5 separate regions of the Homo sapiens genome follow, and regions 2, 3, 4 and 5 are each linked to region 1. Evidence: promoter capture Hi-C in 16 types of primary human blood cells and fetal thymus (Javierre and others, 2016). All regions are on one chromosome and are shown on one strand. Each heading gives the region's core, a stretch centred on a gene start or on the middle of the fragment in contact. The rest is flanking DNA. Distances are from core to core; before and after follow the strand shown. Region 1 holds the start of SOX17 (SRY-box transcription factor 17). Region 2 has its middle 67 kb from the start of MRPL15. Region 3 has its middle 84 kb from the start of MRPL15. Region 4 has its middle 89 kb from the start of RNU105C. Region 5 has its middle 59 kb from the start of RNU105C.

What was found. Contacts are between HindIII fragments. The CHiCAGO score rates a contact against its expected background, and 5 or more counts as called.
Region 2: a contact is called between a fragment that was not itself captured here and the fragment with the promoter of SOX17 in region 1, in 1 of 17 cell types (endothelial precursors). The highest score is 6.0, in endothelial precursors.
Region 3: a fragment that was not itself captured here is called in contact with the fragment with the promoter of SOX17 in region 1 in 2 of 17 cell types (endothelial precursors and megakaryocytes); the score reaches 9.5 in endothelial precursors.
Region 4: a fragment that was not itself captured here is called in contact with the fragment with the promoter of SOX17 in region 1 in 1 of 17 cell types (endothelial precursors); the score reaches 6.1 in endothelial precursors.
Region 5: a contact is called between a fragment that was not itself captured here and the fragment with the promoter of SOX17 in region 1, in 1 of 17 cell types (endothelial precursors). The highest score is 7.0, in endothelial precursors.

Annotation. Positions count from the first base shown.
Region 1 is chr8:54,456,561-54,459,184 of GRCh38, reverse strand. It overlaps SOX17 (SRY-box transcription factor 17), which reads right to left and starts at 1,250. Exons shown (of 2, transcript NM_022454.4): 1 at 740-1,250; 2 at 1-127. The coding sequence starts at 1,046. The HindIII fragment of the contact is 4,543 bases long and covers 1-2,624 here.
Region 2 is chr8:54,201,373-54,203,996 of GRCh38, reverse strand. No RefSeq gene overlaps it. Among named protein-coding and RNA genes, the nearest start is that of MRPL15, 67 kb to the right of the region's middle. The HindIII fragment of the contact is 6,346 bases long and covers 1-2,624 here.
Region 3 is chr8:54,218,207-54,220,830 of GRCh38, reverse strand. No RefSeq gene overlaps it. Among named protein-coding and RNA genes, the nearest start is that of MRPL15, 84 kb to the right of the region's middle. The HindIII fragment of the contact is 3,499 bases long and covers 1-2,624 here.
Region 4 is chr8:54,240,690-54,243,313 of GRCh38, reverse strand. No RefSeq gene overlaps it. Among named protein-coding and RNA genes, the nearest start is that of RNU105C, 89 kb to the left of the region's middle. The HindIII fragment of the contact is 6,637 bases long and covers 1-2,624 here.
Region 5 is chr8:54,270,803-54,273,426 of GRCh38, reverse strand. No RefSeq gene overlaps it. Among named protein-coding and RNA genes, the nearest start is that of RNU105C, 59 kb to the left of the region's middle. The HindIII fragment of the contact is 3,110 bases long and covers 1-2,624 here.

The DNA of each region.
Region 1 (2,624 bases), core at 1-2,500:
ACCTGCTTGCGCCGCCGCGGCCGGTACTTGTAGTTGGGGTGGTCCTGCATGTGCTGCACGCGCAGCCGCTCTGCCTCCTCCACGAAGGGCCGCTTCTCCGCCAGCGTCAGCGCCTTCCACGACTTGCCTGCACAGTGGAAGGAAGGGGGAGAGGGGCGCAGGGCTTATCGGCTGCGCTCCCGCTCCAGGCCCCACCTGGCCCCACCTGGACGCACCTCCCCCCTCAGACTTTGAATTGCGCAACCGGGGTGAAGTTAAAGAGGGAGATCTGGGACTCCTGAGTCCGAGCCCTTGGGGAACACCCGTCCTCTAAAGGCACCCCTTTCTTTTGGTCTCCTGGAAGCGGCTTTCCGCTCACCCATCACCCGGTCGTTCGAAAAACAGAAAAGGACACCTAACTAGGGAAGGGGTCGAGGGATGGACACAACCGGCCCAGTTCAGGGCCAAGGGTGCTCTCGCGCCGCCCGGAGGTGCCGGGAAGTCGCCTTCCCAGAGCCGTTGGACCCGCGCCCCCGGCCACCTGGGGAATCCGGGAGCCGGAGAGCAAGGCGGAAAGCTGCTTTGGAGGGTCGGAGGGCGGGAAGCGGGAAGGGAACCCAGAGCCTTAAGAAAGGACGTGGCCGCTACACACCCCTGGTTTTGGGCGTCAGGCTCGCAAAGAACAGTTTGGGGTTTAAGAAATCGGCCTAGCGATTCGCGCCAGCGCGCCCGGCCGCCTGGGTCTGCGACTCGGACTCACCCAGCATCTTGCTCAACTCGGCGTTGTGCAGGTCTGGATTCTGCTGCGCCAGCCGCTTGCGCTCGTCCTTAGCCCACACCATGAAAGCGTTCATCGGCCGCCGGATACGGGACTCGCCCTTGGCTCGGCCCGCGGCCCCGGCCGGTGCTCCGCTGTTCGCCGGCGCCTCGCCCTTCACCTTCATGTCCCCGATGGGGCTCAGCGACTCGGCCCAGGGGCAGGGGCCCAGCCCGGCCATCACCGCGGGCAGCGCGCTCTGGGTCTGGCTCTGGTCGTCACTGGCGTATCCCGCATCCGGGCTGCTCATGGCGCTCCAGGCCTGCCCCGCTCCCCTCAACCCTCCGCCGGACGCGCCGCCTCCCCCGACCCGGGGGAGGGGGTGGGGAGTGAGGCACTGAGATGCCCCGAGGGCTGCGCGGGTCTCCCGGCCCGAAGCCGCCGCCCGTGTTCTGGCCTGTCGCGGTCTGGTCTACAGCGTACCCAGGGCCCCCAGCCGGCCTAGTGACACTGCGGGCGCCCCTGGGCCGCGGGGCCTTTTCTGCACAGATGTGGCCAATGGAGCGGCGAGGGCGGGCCGGTCCCGCGTCGTTAGGCCCACGCCCAGGCCGTGGTCCGAGTCCCACGTCCCAGTCCAACCCCACGCCCGCCCCTTGCCCCTCCCCCGGCCCCGCGCCCAAGGCTACACCTGCCCCCGGGAAAACTAGCCGGAGCTGGGCTCTGGCGCCGCGTCCTCTCCCACCGGGGTTAGGGAGACTCGAAAAGCCGTCTGGGAGGGCTGATTGTACCTTGGAATCGACGTACTTGCCCAAGGTCGTTTAGATGAACATACCGAGCGTCCATTCTATTCTCTTTAAAGCACATCTTTTTGCAGAAGCCGAGGGTGTTTCAGTGGTGGGTGACCTAGTTTACTTCCAAGGAACTGCATGGGCATCTTCAAATGTGTTTTCTCAAATGCGAAAGACACCGTTGATAATAAATTTAAAAATACAATTTTTCCCCCAGGACTCAACTTGCCTGTGTTATATTCAAAATGCTGTGTCCAAGATAAATCCTAATTTTCTAAAGCAAGATTAAATATGGAACGACGTTCTGTATCCAATATTCCTTCACTCTAAAGAATAAAGCATTTACTCATGACAAGCCAACCAGTTTTTATGTGTATCTTATTATACACATCATGTGAAAGTACGAAAATGTATACATGATGTATATAAGATACGCATAACAAAACTGTTTCTCGTATGTGTTCAGTAACAGGTGAGCCTTAATACTGATTTCTAAAATGTAAAGACAGCAGCAATATTTGTCTAAATGTCCGAGTTTGTTTGGGGGAAGAGAACAATCTGTTTTAGCTGCAAAGTAACTGTGGTTCTTACAGTCAGTTTAAAGCGGTTATTCTGGCAGATAATTAGATTTCTATAAGTTTCTTTAGACTGGAATGAAATCTGAATGACTATTAAACTTGTGTTTCGATCTGGAAAAAAAAAAAGTTTTCAGTGGGACTTTTAAAACAAGCCGTTATACAACACTGAGAAATGACACAGCCTGCCACTGCTATTCCTAGCGCCCTCCAGCATTAGCAAAGAAGCATATCCTCATATTAACCCTGAGGTAGACTCTATCTTACAGGAAAGGAAACGGAGGCAGAGAAGTTAAGGAACTTGCTGGAGACTACAGCGTTGAGAAGGTGGAATTCACACCCAGCAGTCCGCCTTCAGACTTGCAGCTCTTAATAATCACTAAGCCAGGCTGTTGTGTTTGTGTATTTGTGTTGGTTTTTGAGGGCAACTAACAGCCATTCCTGCATAATTAGAGATAACTTTGCAAAGAAATCAATATACGAATCTCCAGAACAGATTTTCTTTATTATGAAGGCGTGATAAAA
Region 2 (2,624 bases), core at 35-2,534, 260 kb after region 1:
TCTATCAAAATTGACTGATAAATAATTAGAAAATCTGAATAGACACAACTAGTAAGGAGATTGAATCAATAATCAAAACCTCTCAACAATATCAACAACAAAAAGCTGAGGAACAGATGGCTTTACTGGTGAATTACACCAAATGCTTTTTTTTTTTCCTGAGATAGGGTCTTGCTCTGTCACCCAGGCTGGAGTGCAGTGGTGTGATCACAGCTCACTGCTGCCTTTACTTCCTGGGCCCCAGCAATCCTCCCACTTAAGCCTCCCAAGTAGCTAGGACTACAGATACATGCCACCATGCCCAGCTAATATTTTTTAAAAATTTTTTTGTAGAGATAGTGACTCCCTACATTGCCCAGGCTGGTCTTGAACTCCTGAGCTCAGGTGATCCTCCTACCTTAGCCTCTCAAAATGCTGAGATTACAATCATTAGCCACCATGCCTGGACTATACCAAATACTTAACAATGAATTAACACCAATCCTTCTGAAACTCTTCCAAAAACTTGAAGAGGAGGTAATACTTCTTAAGTCATTCTCTGAGGCCAGCATGACCCTGATACTGAAGCCAGACAAAGATGTTGCCAAAAAAAGAAAACTGTAGGGTAATAACCCTTGTGAATATTAATGCAAAAATCCTCAAAAAAAAAATTAGCAAACCAAATTCAACAGCATATTAAAAGGATTAAACACCATGACTAAGTGGGATTTAATCTCGGAAAGCAAGAATGGTTCAATGGAGCAAGATGGCTGACCAGAAGCCTTTAGTGCTTGTCCCCCTCACAAAAACATCCAGAACAATGAATAAACGATAACATTGCAATAAAAATAACTGAAGGAGAGTGTCATTGTGCATCAGAGGAGTAATAGAAATCCGGGTGAGCACAGAAAATTGGAATGGCCACATAGAGAACCAAAGGAAACACTGAGCCTCCACCATCCCATTCCCTAACCAGGATGGGCTGGGAATGAGGAGAGACCTTCTCCTTTGGCAATGAGGTAAGAAAGAGGATCCCAGCAACCTGCATGAACACCTTGGACACCTACAGGCCTCACCGCTGGGGTCCCCTGCAGTCCTCACAGGAACTAAGCCCAGTGAGGGAACTGCCTGGAGACCACATAGCTGTGGTCCCACTAGAGAAGGCACCAACACTGTGCTCCACCTCCTGGGGCCTGCAAAACTACTGTGCTGTGCCATCTTGGATTTGAAACTATGGATGGAGAATGTCTTGTCCAGGAAGTGAGTACCCTTGGCTCGCCTTCATCCTTGAGGCTAAGCCACCACTGAGCTACTCCAGCCCAGTGGCCCAACATCCCCAAGCTCAGCTGTGAGCAGCTATTACACCCTTCCCTACGGAACCAAGCAGAGGCAAAGGTCCTCCACCTACTCCTCCCCAGCCCCTCAGGTCAGAGCTGAAGTGGTACCCTGTCTCCTGGGAAAAGACTACCTTGTACATGTATGGCACTCATACTTCTCTGGTACCTAAGTTGAAGCAGCACCCTGCATCCTAGAAAGTGGTGCCCTGACCACCCAGAGCAGTCACACACACACCAGTACCTAAGCCGCAGGGCATCCTGCATTCCAGGGAAATGGTTCCTGGGCCACCCAGAACAGTCCTGCCTTTCCAGGCCTGAGCTGAAGTAGCACATTGCCCCCTAAGGAACTGGTGCCCTGGATGAGCTGAGCAGCTCCACATCCCAAGGTTGAGCTGAAATAGTATCCGGTGTCCCAGAGAAATGGAGCAATGGCTGAGCTGAGACACTCAGCCCTACAGGCCAAACGGATCTAGTATTCTGCTTCCCTGGAGCTGGACTAGCCTACTAAAGTCTTAGCTGCTGAAACACCCCTCTTCCTGGGGAGTAGACTCATCACTGTGCTTTCTTCTGCCCTACTCCTCAGGGCCCAAATGATAGCTGTGCTCTGCCATTCTGGGGTACTTACTGCCACTGCACTTGCCCTCACTGAGTCTGAGATACTCCCAACCCTGACCATCTCAAGGCCTAGAGTCACTACTACATAGTACCTCATCCAATGGGACCTGAGTTATCACTGAGCCCTACTGGCTCAGCTTCCCAAATTGCAGCCATACCCTGCTTCCCAGGCTCAAACCTCTAAAGCATTCATTCCTTCCTCCCCAAACTCAGGCCAGGGTTGTGCCCTCCCCCCAGGGGTATAATCTCAGCAACAATTCCACCCCTGGGCCTGAGCTACTAGGGGGTGCCATAGAGTCACAGATCCTGGCTCTGTGGGCAACCTACATCTAACCCTGCCACAAAGAGCAAACCTGCACCCCAAGACCCAGGTGCCATGATAAGTTCATGAGACTGTGAACCGAAGACCACAACCCCACAACTGCTTAAAGCACTTGCACCTGTAATCCAGTGCCACTGCAGATGCTTGTAGGCTATGTCAGACCCAACACCAAGAGAGATCCCCTCAGCTAAGTCCCCTCATTGAGAAGAAAACAACAGGAGGACCACAAAAGCCCTTTATACTGAGGATATTAACAACCAATGCCACTATTGCCCCGTCACAAATTTTTACAGCCTAGGCCACTGAGATGTCCACAGTTATTACTGACATTGAACACAACAGAAGAAGCTGCATAAAGAGTATGCTAATGC
Region 3 (2,624 bases), core at 34-2,533, 240 kb after region 1:
CCAGGCATGGTGATTCTTGCCTCTAATCTCAGCACTTTAGGAAGCTGAGGCAGACAGACCACCTGAGGTCAGAAGTTCGAGATCAGCCTGGCCAATATGGTGAAACCCCGTCTCTACTAAAAATACAAAAATTAGCTAGGCACGCTGGAGCATGCCTGTAATCCCAGCTACTCGGGAGACTAAGGCAGGAGGATCGCTTGAACCCGGGAGGCAGAGGTTGCAGTGAGCCGAGATCATGCCACTGCACTCCAGCCTGGGCAACACAGTGACACTCTGTCTGAAAAATAAAATAAAATAAGACTACCCCAGAAAATTCCAAATATATAATCTCCATAATCATGTACTGCATGTATTGTGTAGTTGGTTTAAAATGTTTTGAAAACATCCACCAAAAATGCAGGCATCAGAGCAGAGGGAGTAACTGGCTTCCTCATTCTTACAAACAACACCAGAAGTGGCACTTAAGGCAGCCACCAATTTAACTCAGTTCTCTGTGCTATCCCAGCTGGGTCATTTTTAATTGTTGGTTCAGTTTTACAAAGTGAACGTGAGCGTCAATCTTTCTAAAGTCTTTCATGACTCAAATCTACACAAAATTGTTTTGAGTAAAGAAGGAGGATCCAAGAAATAAAGGCATTTTACAGAAATGACAGAAAAAAATAAGATCCTTTGATTACATTGGTAGAAAAAAACTAATTTAAATTATGAGATAAAGCTGAGGAAGAAACCAACCGTGACTGCAAGTAGCACTAAGTACTTAGCATCCAGTGCCTTCTTAGATTTATCTCGGTTAGAGCACCAATAAATCATAGTGTCTAATGCAGATTCCTGAAAGGGAGCTGGAGAGCCCTGGTCCGGTCCTCACACTCTGTGGGAGGCGGCAGCCACTCCTTCCTGCCATCTGTCTAATGAACCATATGAATAAATGGCTGTTTCTCCACTCTGCTGCCCATTAGAATCACCTAGGGAGTTTTATAAACATACCAATACCCCAATCCTCACCCCTCAAAAATTCTAGAACAATTAAGCTGGACCCTGGTGGTAGATCTTGGGCATCAGTATTTTTAAAAAGCCCCCCGAGTGACCAAGGTGTTGCCAGAATTGAGAATTCCTAGAGGAGCTCAGTGATTTCTGTGTTTTTTTTTTGTTTTTTTTTTTTTTTGAGACAGAATCTCGCTCTGTCGCCCAGGCTGGAGTGCAGTGGCATGATCTCAGCTCACTGCAACCTCCGCCTCCCGGGTTTAAGCGATTCTCCTGTCTCAGCCTCCCAAGTAGCTGGGATTACAGGTGCGTACCACCACACCCAGCTAATTTTTGTATTTTTAGTAGAGATGGGGGGGTTTCATCATATTGGTCAGGCTGGTCTCAAACTCCTGACCTCAGGTGGTCTGCCCACCTCGGCCTCCCAAAGTGCTGGGATTACAGGCATGAGCTACCACGTCCAGCACGTTCTTTTTAAAAGTCTTAGATCTCTATTTCATGGGCACCTCTCCCTTGGTCTCCCAGTCCAGAAAGAAACTCCAGAAAGTCAGGAGCCTCCTTTCGTTTTCAACTGTGAAACATACAAGGGCAGAGACACCACATGCGAAGGCAAAAGCAACATTGACAAGGGAAAATGTGATGTTTTTGTTTGTTTTAAAGGGGAATTCTAAATTAACTCTTAAAGTGTGTTTGGGGCTTCAGGTGCACTGGAAGGTCTTCCCTGGAGCAAGGAGCAAGGAGCAGGGACAGAGCCCCTGGGCAGGGGTGAGTGCTCTGCCTGGAGACAGCCCTCAGCACTCACGTGGGAAACTGCTCAAGGCAGCCCAGAGTCCCTGCAACAAACTTCATGCCCAAGGAGTGAGCAGTTTCTCTAAATACAATAGAACCTCTGCCACTTTGAAGATAAGCTCTCACAGGCTGCTTAAAACAATAATTCTGTACTTTCTTTCCTGTTTCTAGATTTATTTTAAGTATTAGTATAAAATGTCAGAGCAGCTGATAGCAGCCAGATCAGTTTGTATAAAGCCTGACTGCCTGTTTGTAGTATATTACAGCTATATTTGACACAGGAAAGCACTTAATCATGCCTGCTATCAGCACACCACACCCACCTTTGTGAGGACCCTCAGGGGCTGTGAGATTTATCACTGTGAACTTGAACTGGATGGACAGGCCCTAATGGATAATGCAGGCTGCTTCTGAGAACTTCGGGCTAAAAGTGTACCATCCACAACCCCAGTGCCAAGAGAAAGGTCAGGAACACCAAGCACCTCCCAGGACTGGCCTCAATAGATCCAACCTATGCCCTGAATTTTATCTCAAGCAGTTGAAGTCTGACGAGTATAAATCTGAGGACATGGTAAGAAACTCCTTCTGCTCCATTTTGCCCCAAAATTGCCTCTCCTGAGGGCCCATTAGCCACGTTTTCGTCTTCACACCAACTGATAAACACTAGTGCTCAGATAGAAAAGGCTAGTAGCATTTCTGCAGGGTTCTTGCAGTTAGCCAACCTCTTCACCGAGTCCCTCTGCACCTCGAGGGACCCTGGGAGGCTGGCGCAGCAGAAGTGGTGGTGCTGTCCAATTCACATATGGGATATTTAAGGCCCACAGAGCTAAGGGAGGTGACCAAGGGGGACCGCA
Region 4 (2,624 bases), core at 58-2,557, 220 kb after region 1:
CCCTGGAGGACTCTGCATGTCACTTAGTTCCTCCTGGTCCATGTCTCTCCATCCTGCCCAGTGAGTGCCTCCATCCTGATCTTCAAAGCCCTTTTCAGCCTGGGGGAAAGGCGAAGTAGTTCCTATTTCACTTCCTCCAACCATGAATCCACTTACCCATCCATGCTCCCATACTCATCCCCAATGTAAAAAAACACACACCAGTTCTTCTCACTTCCTTCTCCCACCCCCACGGTTGGGCTCTGGCCAGATGTAGGGGGAAGGAATAGAGGAGACAGCAACAATTCAGCCCCATCCTGAGTGTCAACAGAGTGCAAATTCTGGCAACTGCTCAATGGTGCATCTGAACAGGAGAACAAGGGCCTCCCCCAGAGTCATTCACCCAAATGGAACTCCATCTACCCAGCACCAGACAGCCCTGGTGGAAATCTGAGCACTGCCCAGCTATCAAGGAAGCCAGGAAGGGAAGAAGAGAGGAACAGGGACCCTGCGTGGAAATTCTAGGAGAGCAGGACTTTGGGGCACCCGTAGGCAATGTCCAGTTTGAAACAATGGTTCTCATCATTATCAAGAGCAGTACTCAAATGTTCATGTCAGCTTTCATCCACCCATGTGTCATTCAGAGTGCTTGCTCCAGACCAACTGGGCACTGCACATCCACGCAGCGCCCCAGGCGGCATCATAAGCCTCCTGTCAGGCACAGCGCAGTCAGCACCAAAGATTTGCACCTCTGCAGCCTGAGTGTCAAAAATGGACACTCATTGCCAACACCAGCAACTTATTAATTATCATGATGAATCCTAAAAGTGAGCTCTTACTGGTAAGAATAAAGGCAGTGAAGACAGGAGAAATCGGCCTGGTGTGGTGGCTCATGCCTGTAATCCCAGCACTTTGGGAGGCCAAGACAGGTGGATCCCCTGAGGTCAGGAGTTCCAACATCAACCTGGCCAACATGGTGAAACCCTGTCTCTACTAAAAATACAAAAATTAGCCGGGTGTGGTGGCACATGCCTGTAATCCCAGCTACTTGGGAGGCTGAGGTGGGAGGATTGCTTGAACCTGGGAGGCAGAGGTTGCAACGAGTTGAGAATGCGCCACTGCACTCCAGCCTGGGTGACAGAGCAAGACTGTCTCAAAAAAAAAAAAAAAAAAAAAAAAAAAAAAGACAGGAGAAATGGTTCACAAAGTTCTCAGTTTGAGAAGAGAAAATAGTTCTGGAAGCCAGTGGTGGTGGTAATGGTTGCATACAACGTGAATGTACTTGATGCCACTGTCCTGTACACTTGAAAATGGTTAAAATGGTAAATTTTGTGTTATGTATGTTTTACCACAATAAAAATTTTTTTTAAGGTTTAGACATGGCCCATCCTTGCACAAACAGGGAATAACAGTAAACCTTGTCCCCAGCACCCTTCAGAATGGCCCCTGAGGCTCCTTCTCTGCTCTGTTCTCCCCTCCCCATTGCTTTAGATGGATTCCTGAATGCTTCATGTCAACAAGCAGATTCCAAGTTAGGCTCTAGATCAGGGGTTGGCTGACTTTTGCAGTAAAGGCCAGAAAGCAAATATTTTAGGCTTTGTGGACCACACAGTCTCTATTGCAACCACCCAACTCTGCCAGTATGTCAGGAAAGATGTGACAGGCAACACCCAAATGTTCCAACATTTCATTTATAAGAATTTGGCCCACAGCTTAGTCTGCCATTCCCTGATGCAGATCCTCAGAATGTGCTGTCTCCCTTGAGTAGTCTTCTCAGGCCAGCTGAGGCCAGAGATCTGGAGCTTGCTTTGCTTAACGTCTACATGGGAGACACTCTGGCTAAGGGTCCTTCCCTCACAATCTGGAAGTGGAGTGGGGCTGGGGCAGGAGCCCTCACACCTCAGACTTCTGGGTGGTACCAGCATCTGCCTCAAAGAACCCAAGAGCTGTGTGTGGCCACATGGTCTGAGGTCCCTTCACAACACCGAGAAGTAATGGAGAGCAAACCCCACAAAGGTCCTGCCCCAGCCTGGGATACAGGAGAGAATGGATGCAAAATGTAAATAATTGCTCAAGAACTTATAAAGTAATAACTGTGATAGGGTTATAAAGGAAAGCTATTTGAGAATGGGCAAAAAAGGTAACCTATGGATTAGAATCCCTGGGTGCAGAAACAGATCTCTGACCCAAGCAGGTCTTTAGTGCACTTCAACCAGCACTAACTCAGCAGTGGGCACACCTGTTGGGGGAAAAGACTTCAGGGAGGAACTGAATTGATGTAGGCCTCCAAACCGCGGCTTTCCAGAAGGACACCTTGGCTGCTTGTGTCTGTGTGTGTGTGTGTGTGTGTGTGTGTGTGTGTGTGAGTCTTACCAGGCTTGCCAAGGACTGCCCAAATCTACACAACAAAGCAGTTACCTTTCGCCAGTGACTATGGCAGAGAAAGAGCTCAGGACTCAAGCCGGTACTTCTGAGCAAGGTACTGCAATGCTCAGAGCTTGACTTCACACAATATTTTCTTCCCTCTGCAACCCTTGATCTCTCTTCTGGGTTTGATCTCTCTATGACTATATCAGCACACATCCTGAATAGCTGTATAATATGGAAGGATATGATCAAGTTTTAAAATCAGATGAAACACTCTT
Region 5 (2,624 bases), core at 62-2,561, 190 kb after region 1:
CCCAACACTCCCATCCAAACTAGAACTGTCCTCATCATGGGGGAAGCAAGATCTTTTTTTTGCCTGGTTCCCAAATGCACTGGCTTCTTAGAGTCACATGTATACTTTCTTTCTCTTCTGCAATCCAAATCCCTACACAGGATTTAAGCCCACTCATTAGACCCCTGGGATGTTTTCAGTGTATTCTATTGCTTACAAATTCCATTCATTTTTCACTGATTCAAATCTCACTTTTCACACTTTTTTTTATCCATTCTACAAGCACTCACTCAGTATGCTTTCTATACCCTTCAGGGAACATACAGTTTAGTAGGAAGGATAACCAAAAAAAAAAAAAAAGAGAGAGAGAGAGAAGAAAGTAACAGATAGAAAGAAAAAACATCTATAAAAAAAGGCTTTTGCAGCTAATGACTTTTTTGATCACTCCTCAAAGACTTACATGGCTAGTCCTGGGGACCAGCGCTGCAATGGCAAGATAGGAGGGAGGCCATGCAGGTTAGCAAGGGCCTAATGACAAATCACGAATCTCCATGCCTGGCCAAGAACTTTGGACTTGACAGAAGGGCGATAGGAATCCCTTGAAAGGTTTAAGCAGAGCAACGGCATGAAAATACTTACATTCCAAGGAAATTACTCAGGAGGCAGTTGGAGGCAAAGGAGAAAATTGGAATAAGTGATGGTGGAGACATGAGATAAGGTAACAGCAAAGAGAATGGAAGACTAGATACATCTGGGAAATATTTATCACAAGGAAGTGGAAATGAGGAATCAACAAGACTTGGTGATGGATTGAATGGGAACAGCGAGGAAAAGACCAAGGGTAACTTCTAGGTATCTGGCTTGAACCACTTTATTAAGAGAAAGGCCGGGCACCGTGGCTCACACCTGTAATCCCAGCACTTTGGGAGGCCGAGGCAGATGGATAACCTGAGGTCAGGAGTTCGAGACCAGCCTGGCCAACATGGTGCAACCCCGTCTCTACTAAAAATACAAAAATTAGCCAGGCGTGGTGGCAGGCACCTGTAATCCTAGCTAATCAGGAGACTGAGGCAGGAGAATTGCTTGAACCCGGGAGGCAGAGGTTGCAGTGAGCCGAGATTGCACCACTGCACTCCAGCCTGGGCGACAAGAGCAAAACTCCGTCTCAAAAATAAAAAAATTGAAAAAAAGAGAGAAGGAGCCCACCGAGAAGAGAATGGACTGGAAAGGAAGACATGAACATAGGTTGGGACCTGTGGAGTTTGAAGAACCTATTTAACACCCAAATAATGATATCCAACAAACAACAGAGGTTGGGATCTGGGTTTCAGGAAAGAAATTCAGGCTGCAAATGTAAAGATGGAGACCTTCAGCATATAGAGGCCACAGGTAGTTTCTGGGAAGAAGATTCCGAGATGGAGGTTGTTGTCCATGGAGAAGCTCTTAGGGTCAACACGTGGGAAAATGAAGGAAGCCAGCTCAGGCACGTGAAGAAGCTGAACCATGATCCAGTCACAACAAAGGCTTCCCCTGATCTCAAAGGGAGCTTTGTGGGTGGAGATGGCCCTTCAGAATTGACCTGAATTGAGGTGAGAAATTGGGCCTTCAAACAGGTCATGGGATGTGGCTTCCCTTGGGAAGGGCCATGACCTTGGGCCAGGAGTTTGTCTTACACTGAGAGCCAGAAAGGGACTCAACTGAGAGGGGTTCCTACAGACTCTTTTCCCCCGGCACTGTCCATCACAGAGACAATTTAAAGAGCTTGGGCTTGAAGTAGATGACCCTCCCCGCTCCCAGAGACTGTGTAGCCTGCAGAGACCCCAGGAAGGGCAGAAGAGAAAGTTTGCAGGGATGTGCAGTGGAAGACAGGCTTCTGAGGAGGCTGAAAAGAGTTTATTGAGAGTTCAGAGGACCAGCAGTGTTCAGGGGCCACTGAGAGAGAGATTCAGCCAAAAAGGAGTGAATTAATACCCAAGTTAAATGCCACAGGAGTGTAGCAAGGGAAGAAGGAAAAGTGTACCATGAATTTGGCAAGAAAGAGGTCATTATTCAATTCCAAGGAGTGGAGAAGCCTCTGAGTTGAGGCTTAGATAAGAGAAGTGAAGACAGCATGCAGCAGGGGTAGAGAGGAACAGGAGAGGGATTCTTGTTGTTTTTTTTTTAAGTTGGGAAAAACTTAATCATGCTTAAATCCTAATGGATAGAGGGGGCAATTGACATTATAGCAAAATATAACTTCTTCTTTTTTTTTTTTTTTTTTTTGTGACAGAGTTTCACTCTTGTTGCCCAGGCTGGAGCGCAATGGCACAATCTCGGCTCACTGCAACCTCTGCCTCCTGGGTTCAAGCGATTCACCTGCCTCAGCCTCCCGAGTAGCTGGGATTACAGGCATGCGCCACCATGCCCTGCTAATTTTGTATTTTTAGTAGAGACAGGGTTTCTCCATGTTGGTCAGGCTGGTCTCGAACTCCCAACCTCAGGTGATCCTCTCGCCTCGGCCTCCCAAAGTGCTGGGATTACAGGCATGAGCCACCGTGCCAGGCCAACTTCTTTTAAACAAAAAAGAGAGACAGAGAGAGACAGGATCTCACTCTATCACCCAGGCTGGAGGGCAGTGGCATGATCATAGCTCATGGCAACCTCAA